Regions from separate parts of the Homo sapiens genome. Here region 2 is linked to region 1. Evidence: promoter capture Hi-C in 16 types of primary human blood cells and fetal thymus (Javierre and others, 2016). All regions are on one chromosome and are shown on one strand. Each heading gives the region's core, a stretch centred on a gene start or on the middle of the fragment in contact. The rest is flanking DNA. Distances are from core to core; before and after follow the strand shown.

Region 1 (2,700 bases), core at 160-2,659:
CATTACCTATCCTGTGTGTCCTTTGTGCACCTACATAGGTATCAAATATTCGCTGCAATTCACACTTCCCAGTCATCTGTCGTAATAGCCATTTCATCCAAAATCGAAAAAAGTGCCCATAGAAGAACTCCCACAAAGAAATAAACATTTTTTTTTCCTGGAGGAGGGAAACATACAAGACAAGCTTAATGACCTTAAACTGAATTTTAAAATTTAAAAAGTTTATACAACTGATCAAATCTCAAATTATGTATCTATCATTTCATTGTGTCTGTTTTGACAGTTTAATTAGGCATTTAAAAACAATGGCAGGTGTAATATATACCGCTATTAATTGATGATCAAATGGCCAATTAATCACTTTTTCAAAACTAAAATTCAAACAATGTACTCAAACTATTCAATGGCTTGAAAGAGTAACAGAATGGTTTGCACTTTTTGCTAAATAATTGTATTTCATATCTTAGTTTCCTAACTTCCCATTCTTTGAGAACTGGGGCTCAACAGTTCAAGATCAAGAGGACTCCAACTAATCAACAATTAAAATATATACCAAAACATCAGAGTTGTTTTTATAGAATACACTCTTCTTATCCCATGTGGATAATTCGTTACAACTGTCCCAGTCAGGTGATGCCAGCAAATAAAAACACTACAAACTTAAGTATACAAGTTGAACACTGAGTATATAACACCTTAGCTCATTCTTGATTTTCCATTCAATAGGTCAAGGGCAGAAATACTAACAAGTTTTTGTTTTGCTAAGTACACACTCGATACAACTATATCTTATGCCATAAGAAAATTCTTCAGCTTCTAAATGAAAAAGTCAGGGAGATACTAGTGAGAGGGAGATACTTAAAAACAAAATTGCTCGTCTCCTTCCTGCCTTAAACATTCCCACAGACACGTCACCTCTGGACTAGGGCCTGAGGAGGGACTGTCGAAGTTCGAAGTACCCGCAGGTCAGTGCAGAAAGAGCGCATAGCACAGCTGGGTTGATCATTATCTTGAAAATCAAGCCATCTAGTCCGCGCTCATTAGGACAAAAGCGCAGAACTGCCGAGCAGAGGGGATGCACGCGTAGCGGCGCCTGAGCACCCCAGGGCTCTGGGCGTCTCTGCGCCGACCCCCCTCGCGCGCCGCCCGCGAATGGGAGGGCAGGGCTCGCACAAAGACCCGCCGGCCCAGGCGCCCCCGGGTTCCCGCAGAACCCCGCGGGGCTCGCGAGCCCGCGCGCTCTCAGTGCAGCCGCACCGAGGCATCCGGGGCAAGAGGAAAAGAAACAGCAGCCACCTCACAGGAGCGGAAGAACTAGGGGGAGCAGGAGCTGCCTCGGTTTCCCCACTGCAAACAGCCGGCAACGGAAACGACGGAACACTCCCTTCAAGCACCGCGACCCGGAAGTCAGGGAGCGAGGCCGCGGACCCGCCTTCCCAGGGCCACTGCCCGCCCCGCCCCTCCGGCCTCTTCCGATTGGCCCGCGCTCCACCTATTGCTAACGCTGGAGAGAGGTCGAGCTGAGTGGCCCAGGCGCGAGGGCTCAGATACTAGGGACGCCCAGACGGTTTCCCTGGCAACGGCGGCCAGGAGCCCCGCCCCGCGCCGGAGTAGCGCCTCCTAGCGCTGCGCTGGAGACTTTTCCCTCCTTGAACCTCAGGTCCTTAGCGCGGGTTGACACCTTGTACTATTCCTAGGCTCCAAGCGCGGAAGAAACCCTGTGCTTACGGTAACTTATAGTGCCTTAGTTACAAAAGCGCTTTCATCTGCATTGAATCTTAATTCTGTGAAGTAATTATGAATAACTCCACTTTATGCACGAGAAAAGGGAACCGGCTACTTGACTGTGGCCAATACGTGGCAGATGAGGAAAGTCCATGTGTTGAGAAACGAAGTTTGGACTTTATCCTATAATACTATAGGTCTAAAAGTTAATTTATCAAATGTTTATTCCCTAACTGGTTGTTTTTGTTGAAAAAGTAATTTCGTGATTACTTTTTAAAAACCTCAAGCAGTAAGTTTCTTAATTCAACAAGTATTTGTTGATTGTTAGCACAGGCAGTGTTCCAAAAGGCAGTCAAACACGAAACAAACAGCCAAATATTTAATATGTCAGATGCTACTAAATGTTAAGGGTATAGGGGTTGTTAGCTAAGGGGTAATGGGGAGTCTGTGGGGGAAGTCATTGCATACAGTGTGGTCAAGGAAGTCTCATTATTAACGTGGCATTTTGGCCTCATTGAACGAAGTAAGGGAGTTTACTGTGGGAGTATCTGGAGGGAGAGTGATCCAGGCACCAGAATGACAAGTGCAAAGACCTTGAATTGGGAGGGTTTTTGAAATGTTGGAGGAAGAGCAAGAAGGCCGGGGTGGCTGGAGGAGAAAGAGCAAGGGGGAGAGTAGAATATAAATACAAAGGACAACTGATACTGAAAACAAATTTCCCCATCCACCCAAAACTCCTGATACCTCCGTCACCTTGCTCAGAAGCAACCAGTATTACTTTCTTGTTTCTAATTCCAAAAATATTATATGCAAGTGTATATATGTATATTCCTTCCAACTCCTTGAATTGAAGCAAGTGATACATACTTTCCCACATCTCAACCAGCGTTTAAAAAATGGACTAATTGTAGAACACTAGCCATGTGCAGGGTGCATAAGCCGTCATCCCTGTCCCATACCAACAATGAACTTGGT
Region 2 (2,700 bases), core at 86-2,585, 5.1 Mb before region 1:
CACAAACTAGTTGCACCTGGCCCACCCACAGAAGGTGTGTGTTAACTAAATTGGTTGCAAGTAACATTAAAAATCAAGAAAAAATACGTAAAAATACAGATCTTTGGCCTGTGTTGGAGAAAATCGGATCTGCGTTTGAGAGACCCCCATTCCCACATGGCAACAATCAGCTAAATGGTAAATGTTTCGAGCATTCACCAGCTCTTTCCATTCTAAATAAAGGTTTTCTTTTGACATCTTCAAATATCTCAAATGGTGATTTACATTTCTTATGGATATGTAACTTTTCATGCTTGTTTTGTCTCTCCTAATAGAATACAGCCCTTAAAAAACCTGTCCTTGTCTTTGACTTTTTAAAAACCTCTTGTTACCCTGAACACAAACCGGTATTTAGTGCAAAATTATTGTAAAAGAATATTCTGAACATTGTAGACAACAGCAAAATGCTGAATAATCCACACAGTTTTTCTGGAAACTTTTGGCTTTCTACCAAGTTGGAAAAGTTTTATTAGTTTATGTTTTCTAAACATATGGATTAGGGTACAACTCTTAAGACAGATAATAAAAAATTTTTATATTATTTTGGTTTAGGTCGTCTTTCATTTTCTAATGAGAAATACATATGAAGACAGCATGCCCTCTGCTGAAAGAGATTTAGACCCTGCCCGGCACGCCATGTGACGGAACCTAGATACTGTTTGTAACTTTTAGTTTGAATCCAACTTTTATATCCTGGATTTGATTTCCCAGAAAAGAGTTTCAATTTCACTCTTTGGTAGGAGTCATAGTGGCTTTCTCTGACGCGGCCTCAGGTTAACCATTTACCGGGTTTGGCAGCGACAAGGGAAGAGCCACCTTAACAAAGCTGCCTTGCTGTGGCTCAGAGATAACCTGAGAAACCTAACCAAGATGAGAATTTTAAAACACTGTTTACGTACAGGGCCTTTCTTTGTTAAAGCTTCCATTTGAACCCATTTGCCGACTCCTGCCTGTCCACACATATCCGCACCCCGAACATCAATATTAGGAGAATATTCGATAATACTCTCCTTTTCCTTCCCCCACCCCAAATCCTCCAGGGGGCGCCCCGGAGGACCGCGCTGGCCCCCCGGCGGGAGGGCGGCCGTAGGCGGGAGCCCAGTCCCGACTCCTGGACGCCGCGCGCACTCCCCATACTCACCCGCCCGAAGCCACGGAAGTGCCACCTGACCCCGCCCCTTCCGCCGGATCCTCCCACGCAGGCGCAGCGCCGACTGCAGGCGCGTGGGGCCCGGGGATCGCCTGGGGCTGGGTGGCGGTGCGGGGCATGGCCAGGGTCCCCGTGGACGTGGCCGCGCAGTTCCGGCGTGTGGCGGAGAGCGAGTGAGCGTGAAGGTCTCCCGGCCTGCAGCAGGCTGCGGAAGCTCTGCGCCGGGAAGTTCTCTGGCGGGGGAGGGGAGGGCGGTTTACGGCCTTTGGGGTAGGTTTTGCCCTTTTTAAGATCCACATGAAATCTTTCGCCTCCGAAGTTCGAGGGTAACTTTCGTTCCCTCCTGGCCTTCGCGACACCCTCGAGTCGGACGGAGGCCGAGTCGTGTCCTCACCCCCAGCAGCCTGCGGCGGCCGGGACCCCCGGAGGCCCTTCTTCCGCTCCTTGGAAACTTAAAATGTGGGGTGAGGGAGAGACGCGTTACGTTTGACAGACCGGTGAAATTAAAGACACTCAAGCTTCTCAGAGTGATTTGAAGAAATGCTCAGCGTTCTGCCGAAATATAGTTTTAAGTTTTTAAACCACGGCATGGTTTTTAAAGGCTGAAGGACCCACAGTTTTTTTCTCTTAAAGGGCACGCATTCATTTTGATTAATATTTCTTAACATGCAGCCAAAGCCAGGACTCGGGCTCACTGCTGCAGGGGTGTCCTCGGGAAGTCCCGAGGGGGGAAAGGCGCGCAAGCCTGAAATGGAGATGAAAATAAACAGGCATAATATTTGCTACCTCACTGCGTTGGGCGTAGTAGTAACTAATTCTTAAAAAACGTCTTAGATGACATATAAGTAGTAAAGCCGTTGTATGCTAATCTAGAATTTTTGAGAAAAACTTAATCACCCAAATGTTTGCTATAATGTGATGAAGATAGCATCCATCGGCAGTAGCCAGGATCAAATGACGAGTAGATATGGTTATAAATGGGGCCCATGCAGTATAATTAGTATATGAAACCAAGATGTCAGTCCTCACACAGAATTTGTGTAATGATATGCATTTGGGAGGCTTCAGGCCTTTTCAGCTATTTGATACAGGTTGATTCTTACTGAATACAGAATAATAAAAAATGAATTACTGGTCTCACCATTTTCATTATTACTATTTGGACCAAAAGACTACCACTTTTACTCCAAAGATTGATTGTAGACTCAATAGCCAATGACAGAAAATTAAGCACAAGTCTAAATGAAGCCGAGGATCTAGTAGAAAGAACACAGAATCAAACCTTTCAAATCTCAGCCTATCGAACACAAACAGATTGACAGTTCTTGAGACGGTTTACTTCCTTTCTTTAAACTTGGCGTTGCTCATCTGAACAATTGTTTCGGTAAGGGTTACGTTTGATGAAAGCTCAGTTTGTGCTACCTTAGAAGTGAAGAAGTTTGTTAATTTTAAAATTGAGTTTATCCTTACCTGCTTTTCGTTCTACAAACTCAAACACTTTCATGCATGTC

What was found. Contacts are between HindIII fragments. The CHiCAGO score rates a contact against its expected background, and 5 or more counts as called.
Region 2: a fragment that was not itself captured here is called in contact with the fragment with the promoter of ELMOD2 in region 1 in 1 of 17 cell types (non-activated CD4 T cells); the score reaches 7.5 in non-activated CD4 T cells.

The regions. Positions count from the first base shown.
Region 1 is chr4:140,522,877-140,525,576 of GRCh38, reverse strand. ELMOD2 (ELMO domain containing 2) reads right to left here and starts at 1,409. Exons shown (of 9, transcript NM_153702.4): 1 at 1,297-1,409; 2 at 7-157. The coding sequence starts at 148. RefSeq lists silencers at 1,048-1,167, 1,358-1,707. The HindIII fragment of the contact is 7,186 bases long and covers 187-2,700 here.
Region 2 is chr4:145,617,888-145,620,587 of GRCh38, reverse strand. MMAA (metabolism of cobalamin associated A) reads right to left here and starts at 1,203. Exons shown (of 7, transcript NM_172250.3): 1 at 1,181-1,203. RefSeq lists silencers at 835-904, 935-1,374. The HindIII fragment of the contact is 749 bases long and covers 961-1,709 here.